Linked DNA regions of Homo sapiens: regions 1 and 2 are each linked to region 3. Evidence: promoter capture Hi-C in human tissues and cell types (Jung and others, 2019). All regions are on one chromosome and are shown on one strand. The core of a region is centred on a gene start or on the middle of the fragment in contact, and the rest is flanking DNA. Distances in the headings are between cores, read along the strand shown.

Region 1 (2,700 bases), core at 52-2,551, 130 kb before region 3:
CTGCACTGACGGACTTGAGCTTTAATATCAGTTATAGGGTAATTGAGCTATAATATCAATTATACTTGGGCTATAATATCAGTTATAGGGTACTGATAGGGTCTGATTTCACAAGACTAGAAGTTAGGATAATATATGTTTGCACTGTTAACTTTTAGCAAACTTTACTTTTGTTGAAAACCTTTTAAGTTTGGAATTTCAATTATTCTTCACTATTAATAAGACCTCGTTCAGTCCATATTAACTTAGAACTGGTATGGATGGCTCCTTCCTGATTCTGTAAGTACTTTAAGGTTTGGGTTAGTGCAAACAGCTCGCACCCTTGAGCAGATCAATTATTAGAAAATTTTCCTAATTCTGATTCTATGATTTTCCTTATCACTTACTGAATACCCATTGTGTCTTTTTCCTTTATCACCTGGGAGGAACCATCTATCCTCCTATCCTGAAGAGAGTTCTTCCTAGATCTGGTCGGACCTTTGTATAGTAATTAATTAAGATTTAGATCCCCTGTTAGGAAACCTACTGGGTTAAGGATTTTTGATAGGAAGGCTACAGGTTGTCAGTGGCCTCAGTGCTTTCAGGCTACACCCTTGTTTACACTGACAAGGTGGTATTGGAGTGTTATAGGGTTACAGAGAAAACCTTCATTTATCAATTATAGGTTTTAATTTCACCCTGGCTTTTAAAGGAATAGGGTACACTTTTTTCTTTACTACTTCTCTCTTTCTCTTTGATTTCTTTGTCTCTCTCTTTCTTTGTCTTTCTCTTTGTTTCTCTCTTTGTCTGTCTCTTCCTCTCTCTCTTTGACTTTCTGTGTCTCTCTTTTTCTCTCTTCTGACTCCCTCTTTGTCTCTCTCTCTTCCTCTGTCTCTTTGACTTTGTCTCTTTCTTTCTTTCTCTCTGACTCCTTTTTTCTCTCTCTCTTCCTCTCTCTGTCTCTTTCTCTAACTTTCTGTCTCTTTCTCTCTTTCCTTTCTGCTGGTCTTTCCCTGCCTCTGCCAGCTGCTTATGCTGCTGTTCTCCCCTCTCCTTCCCCTTTTGATGGGTTTGGCAGTGTAAGACTGCCACCTCCTTGGATTTTTGCACTGCATGCAATAACTCCATGGCTTCCTTGTAGTATTTAATGGGGGTTCTTCCTTTCTTTCCAGATTGCAGCATGGGCATGTAGGATTAGATAAGCATACTTGCTATTTGTATACATATTTATTCTTCTTCCCTTTCCCAGTTCTAAAGCTTGGGTAAATGCCACTAGTTCTGCTGACTGGGCGCTGGTCCCTGGGGGAAGAGGCCTTACTTTCAAGTACTGTTACTATGGCATAACCTGCCCTTCATATCCCATTCTCCACAGATAAACTTCCATCAGTATATAGGTTAAGGTCAGGATTAGTTAAGGGGACTTCTAAGAGATCATCTCAGGTGGCATAAATCTGGACTATAATTTGTTGGCAGTCATGCTTGATTGGCTCATCATCCTCTGGGAGAAAAGTGGCAGGGTTGAGGGCCATGCATGTACATATTTGAAGCACCAGTCCCTCAAAGAGTAGGGCCTGGTATCTAAGTAGATGGTTGTCTGATAACCATAAACTTCCTTTGGCACCTAGTATGTCATTTACATCATGAGTAGTCCAGACAGTGAGATCCTTTCCTTGTATTATTTTGATAACCTCTAACACTAAGATGGCCACCACCACAACCACCCATAAATGGTGAGGCCAGCCTTTTGCTACCACATCAACTTCCTTACTTAAGTATGCCACTGATGTGGGGTTGTCCCACGAGTCTGAGTAAGGACTCCAAGAGCTATTCCTGCTCTCCTTGTGATGTATAAAGAGAAGTTTTGTCCTGTGGGAAGGTTTAAGGCTGGAGCTTGAGTTTGTTCCTTCCAATGCCCAGACTTCAGGGTTGATTCCCTCCTCAAGCAGGGGACAACAAATGGGTAACTTTTCCCCCATATTCATGTAAATAATAGCTGCAGCTTTGGCTAATATATCCCTCCCTAATAAGGGTATGGAACTTTCAGGCATAACAAGAAAGACATGTGAAAAGAGCAAAGTCTCCCAATTACAACTGAGGAAGTGGGAGAAATACCTGTCCCGGGATTCCTCAGATGGTAACAGACCTTGAGGACAGCTGTCCAGAACAGTAGATTAACACTGACAAAGCTGTGCCAGTGTCCAGGAGGAAGTCAATTTCCAGGCCTTCAATGGTTATACATACCCGGGGTTCAGTGAGAGTAATGACATGAGCTGGCACTTGCCCCGGGCACCCTCAGTCTTGTTGTTGGATCATCTGATTGGGGGCTTCTGGCCCAGAGAACCATTGCACTCTGGGGCAATGTGCCTTCCAGTGATTGCCTCGGCATAGTGGACACGGACGAGGAGGCAGCTTGTTTCTCATAGGACAATCTTTTAAAAGTGTCCTTGTAAACCACACTGATAACAAGCGCTACCTGGTGATTGGCCTGCTCCATTTTCTGTCCTCTCTGAACCACCAGTGTTTGTTTGTCTGAGGCCATGACTAAAGCTGTGGCCTTTCTCTGATTTTGCTTTTCCTTTTGGGCCTGTTCCTCTTGGTCCCTATTATAGAACACTGAAGTTGCCAGGTTTAATAATGTCTTCAGATTTTGTTCAGGGCCCATGGCTTACTTTTGGAGCTTTCTCCTGATGTCTGCAGCTGATTGGGTAATAAACTTCTCTT
Region 2 (2,700 bases), core at 101-2,600, 76 kb before region 3:
TCCTGCTCCTCATCTTTCAGGCTGTAGTGTGGGACAGAATGTCCCAACTATGGTGTCTGCCTTTCACTATGAGCCGTGTGCCCAACAACAAGAGCCCAATGAATGATGGAGAAGATGGAAGGAAACCACCTGGGCCCCTGCTGAGGACACTGCACCAACTCTGTGAACACCACCCCCATGGCCTTTGGTAAATGACCAGTGTCATCATGGGAGAGGTAGCCTGTGTTTCTCAGGACTCTTCCTCTCTGCAGCCAGGATACTTCCAGGAATGATGGAGCTGACACATCACTAAGTGCCAGTCCCAGAGCCAGGGTGGCAAATGAAGCTTATTGTGCAATGTGAACAAAATGTATCTGAAAATTACATGACCTGGCTTATTGTCCCCAAATTGCCTTCTACATATTTCCTCAAAATTACAAAGGGTTTGTGTTACCTGCCTAGCCTTCCCCATCAGGTAGATCCAAAGAAATTTGGTAAGTGAAATATTTCACCAAGACCAATGCAAATGGAAGCTTTGGTTTTCATTTTACTAAGGAGTAAGGAGGGAAAAATAGTCCTGCTGAGTGAGAGATTTTCAAGAACAGGGAACTTTCCAGATAAAACACCATTTTTCCAAATAAGTCTCAGGTCTGAATGCATTTGGAACATCCTACCCCTTGAATCCTGAGAAGAGAGACATCCAGTCTCCTAGACAAGAATTGCTCCACCCTCCAAACATTCACAGACCTAACACCCACTGTAGTTTAAAAGGCAGGATATTTGTGGTGTGAGTCCTGACTCCACCATCTCTTGGTTAGGGTTCCTGGAAACAGACCCAGATGGAGATTCATGGGCAAGAGGCTCACTGAGGCATGTGCTGGGGAGGCAGGGGCATGGGGTAGGGCAGAGGAAGAAGTCAGGCAGGGGTGCAGCTCAGCAGATGACAGCCACAGCCAGGCCCATGGAGAGCTCTGCAATGGGGATGGCCTCAGAGTGGTAGCATATCAGGGCAAAAGAGTCAACATTTTGTACCCGCATATAGACCTATTATTTAAAATAGGCAATTCCAGGAGGGGCATGAACTTGGACAAAGCAGCTTCCTTTGACTCAGATCAATGCCCACAGAAGGACTCAACTGTGAGCCATCAGCGGCCACACTCCCAGTAGCTGAGAGAATGAAGTCTCACTGGTAAAGGGGAAACTGGTGGATGGAGCCCCTGCTGAGAGAGCGAGGGATGTCATCTCGAGGAGACTCAGTTAACTCATCTGTACAATGGGAAAAATTATAACTATGACTACGTATGGTCATTTAAGGTCTGTGGACTATGTACTTAAGTTTGTTTTTATGGTAGCAGGGATCTTTTGTTTCCATGTGTAGTACTTCCTGAAGAATCTCATGTAAGGCTGGTCTAGTGGTAACAAATTTCCTTAGTGATTGTTTGCCTGAAAAACATTTTATTTCTCTTTGCTTCTAAAGCTTAGTTTGACAGAATATGAAATTCTTGGTTGAATTTTCTTGTCTTTAAAAATGCTGAAAATAGGCTCCCATCACTTCTGACTTGTACAGTTGCCACTGAGAACTTTGCAGTTAAACTGATGGGGCTTCCTTTGTACATTATCTGACATTTTTCTCTAGATGCTTTTAGATTTTTTATATAATTGACCTTGAAAAACCTGGTGACTATAGGCATTGATGTTCATTTTGTGTAGTATCTTTCATGTGCGTCTGTGTGAAGAGACCACTAAACAGGCTTTGTGTGAGCAATAAAGCTTTTAATCACCTGGATGCAGACAGACAGGCTGAGTCTGAAAGAGAGTCAGCAAAGAGAGATGGGGTGGGGCTGTTTTATAAGATTAGGGTAGGTAAAGGAAAATTACAGTCAAAGGGGGGTTGTTCTCTGGTGGGCAGGAGAGTGGGGGTCACAAGGTGCTCGGTAGGGGAGCTTTTGAGCCAGGATGAGCCAGGAGAAGGAATTTCACAAGACAATGTCTTCAGTTAAGGCAGGAACAGGCCATTTTCACTTCTTTTGTGGTGGAATGTCATCAGTTAAGGCAGGAAATGGCAATCTGGATGTGTACCTGCAAGTCACAGAGGATATGATGGCTTAGCTTAGGCTCAGAGTCCTGACAGTATCTCGCAGGTGTTCTCTTCATTTTTTGTGTCTAGATGTCTATGACACTAGCAAGATTAGGGAAATTTTCTTGGATTACCTCAGATATGTTTCCCACATTGTTTATGTTTTCTCCTTGTCTCTCAGGAATGCTAACAATTCAGAGGTTTGGTCATTTTATATAATTTCATATTTCTCAGAGACTGTTCATTATTTTTGTCTGTCTGGGTTAGTTCAAAGTACCAATCTTCAAGCTCTGAAGTGGTTTTTTTGTTTGGTCTAGTCTAATAATAAAGCTTTCAACTGTATTTTGAAATTCCTTAAGTGGAGTTTATCAATTCCACAAACTCTGATTGATTTCTTTTTAAAATGTGTATTTCTTTCTTCATCTCCTGGATTGCTTAAGAAATTTGTTTTTGTTGATTTTGAATATTGTCTTGGATCTCATTGAGCTTCTTAGCAATGTATGCTTTGAATTCTTTATCTGTCATTTTTGAGTTTTCATTTTGGTTAGGAACCATTGCTGGGGAGATAGTGAGATCCTTGATGGTCTCACAATATTCAGATGTTTCATGGTGCCAGGATTCTTGTGCTGTTTTTTTCTCATCTG
Region 3 (2,700 bases), core at 178-2,677:
TTCCAAGGAGTGCACAGAGGAAAGGAGCCTGAAGCATGGCTGCCTAGGAGAGAAGCAAGAGAGGCCTGTGGGTTCCCACATTCATCCCGTGGCTGCTGCTCCCTCTCCTGACACCCCCACTGCCTCACAGGGGTCTCCGTGCACCTTCCACCGGTCCTCACCCACAGTTACCGTGAGACTCCAGGTGGTTTCCTCCCTTGCTCACATCCCCTCCAGGAGCTTCCTCTTCCTGGAGCAGGCATGTCCCAACCCCACCTCAGGGCCTTTGCACTGGCTGTTCCCCGCTGCCTGGGGCTGCTCAACCTCTCCAGTCTCATAGAGACCACCCTGACCAGGGTCCAGTGGTCTCTCTCTAGCCCCTGTTCTATTTCACTTCCAACAGAGTGAGTATAACTCCCTGATCCTAATTGTTGATCGTAACCTACCATCCTCTACACACACTGTGTAGGAATTTACTGTGCAGTTCCACAGCCACCAGCCACATGTGCCACAGGACACTTGAAATGGGGCCAGTCCAAAATGATTCCTGGGCTAAGTGTAAAAAATACACAGGGAATTTCAAAGATTTACAAAACCAAAAAAAAAAAACACACATAAACGATCTCATTAATAATTGTTCCCGTTAGCTGAAATAATATTGTGGCTATATTAGGTTAAATAAATATTTTAAACATTACTTTCACCCATTTATTCTCATCTTTTAAAATGCATCTACTAGAAATTTTCAAATGCTTGTGGGTTCATGTCACATCTCTGTGGGCAGCAGCTCTGCAATGTCACCTCTATGGCTCATCATCCAGGTTCCGTCTTCAAGCCCTAGACCTCCTGGCATGGGCAGTAACTGGTGATAGGTTTGTTTATTGAATAATGAGTTATGAAAACAGAAGCCAGTGACCTTTTCCAAAAAGGTTAATTCCCTTAAATTTGGCAAAGAAATTCTCCATATTAGGGTGTGGACAGGGTCTTCTGGAACCTTCTGAAATAACCTCTCTGTTCCAGAGATTCAGAGACCGTGACCAAGTGCTCCTGGAAGCCTCTGATATCTGAAGACCCCGGGAGGCCAAGCCCTGTATTTTTCCCCTTTCTGAGCAAACAGGAAGTCACATTGCTTTCACAGTCAAAGGACCAGTGTCACCTCTGTGGAGACCTGGGTGACTCAAGCTTGGGAGCACTGGGGAAGAGAGGCATGGCTCAGGGAGGCTGCAGTGAGGACTGGAGTGGGGAGGAGGGGGAGATGGAGGAGGAGGCCTGGGAGGGGCAGGGGGAACTTAGGCAGGGAGGGAGCTTGTAGTGGTGGGGGAGTGAAAAGAGAGATGGAGAAAGAGGGGATGGGCAGAAAGAGGAGGAGGAGTCAGGGGCAGGGCATGGAGGTGGGTGGGGCTGGGCTGCCAAAGCAGGATAAATGCACACCTGCCTGCTGGTCTGGGCTCCCTGCCTCGGGCTCTCACCCTCCTCTCCTGCAGCTCCAGCTTTGTGCTCTGCCTCTGAGGAGACCATGGCCCGGCCTCTGTGTACCCTGCTACTCCTGATGGCTACCCTGGCTGGGGCTCTGGCCTCGAGCTCCAAGGAGGAGAATAGGATAATCCCAGGTGGCATCTATGATGCAGACCTCAATGATGAGTGGGTACAGCGTGCCCTTCACTTCGCCATCAGCGAGTACAACAAGGCCACCGAAGATGAGTACTACAGACGCCCGCTGCAGGTGCTGCGAGCCAGGGAGCAGGTGGGTGCTGCCTCCACCCGAGGGGTCCTGAGCCCTAGCCTGGTTTGTTGCCGGACCCCCAAGAGCATTCCAAGCAAATCAACACTGACACATTCATGATCTAATGCTCAGATTCATTCAGCTTTCTCTGACTCTCCGCTGATGCCCTTCATGCCTAAGCATGCTCCCGGTCCATGCACTGCAGACAGTTAAAGGAAGTGCTGCAGCTTCCTTTAACCTGCAGCAGCTGCTGTGTCTGTACCATGACCGTGGCATTTCCCAGCGTCCAGCAGGTGTGGATGGAGACTGTGCTGACTCTGGGTGGGCTTGATGCTGCTCAGGATGAGATCCAGGCGGTGAGGCTCATTCTCCTCCCTGAGTCCTCTCCTCAGGGGCCACATGGGAACCTGGCTCCCTGTTCTGCAGAGCCCTTCTTCCTTCCCCAAGTCATGCCCTTGGGCACAGCCCCTTAGGGCTAGTGGCCTTCACCCTCAGGCAGGCTGACCCACCCCTGCAGGCCAGGATGGCTGAGTCCCTGCTGGGGTGGAGCACGCCTGGCCCTGCCTCTACGAGCTGATGCAGAGTTAGACCTCAGCCAGATGAGGACAGCAGTCACCCAGCAGAGCAGAGGAGGGGTTAGGTCCAGAGTGAGCTTCAGCAGGGCAACTGGGCCCAGCTTGACCTGCATCCCATGGCAGAGCAGCAAATAGTGACACAGCCTTTAGAGCTCCTCCACCTTCTAGAAATTCAAAGGAATCCAGACCAGTCCCGTTTCTCCTCCTACAGCTGTCAGCTGGAGCCCTCACCCTGCACAGGAGGTGCACTCCCTGGTGCCATGGTCCCCGCTGGCCTGCATCTCCCTCTTAAGCATGACAGTAACTTGGAGTGAAGCACAGGGCATTGCAGACCATCAGACCTGGAAGCCTATTTTATACATGGGTAAACTGATACTCGAGGGATCTCAGCAGTTCCTCCTGGTTCCAAAGAGTCCCTCATCC

Evidence for each region. The method cuts DNA at HindIII sites, captures the fragments that hold promoters and counts their contacts. A contact is called where the count stands out against the background at its distance.
Region 1: a contact is called between a fragment that was not itself captured here and the fragment with the promoter of CST4 in region 3, in 5 of the 25 tissues and cell types used here (H1 embryonic stem cells, dorsolateral prefrontal cortex, heart left ventricle and 2 more).
Region 2: a contact is called between a fragment that was not itself captured here and the fragment with the promoter of CST4 in region 3, in 6 of the 25 tissues and cell types used here (H1 embryonic stem cells, heart right ventricle, mesenchymal stem cells and 3 more).

What each region holds. Positions count from the first base shown.
Region 1 is chr20:23,814,564-23,817,263 of GRCh38, reverse strand. The region is part of intron 1 of LOC105372575 (a long non-coding RNA gene); the gene reads right to left. Among named protein-coding and RNA genes, the nearest start is that of CST2, 11 kb to the left of the region's middle. The HindIII fragment of the contact is 7,850 bases long and covers 1-2,700 here.
Region 2 is chr20:23,764,172-23,766,871 of GRCh38, reverse strand. No RefSeq gene overlaps it. Among named protein-coding and RNA genes, the nearest start is that of CST1, 15 kb to the right of the region's middle. RefSeq lists an enhancer at 1,581-2,445. The HindIII fragment of the contact is 4,040 bases long and covers 1-2,700 here.
Region 3 is chr20:23,687,765-23,690,464 of GRCh38, reverse strand. CST4 (cystatin S) reads left to right here and starts at 1,427. Exons shown (of 3, transcript NM_001899.3): 1 at 1,427-1,723. The coding sequence starts at 1,496. The HindIII fragment of the contact is 7,573 bases long and covers 1-2,700 here.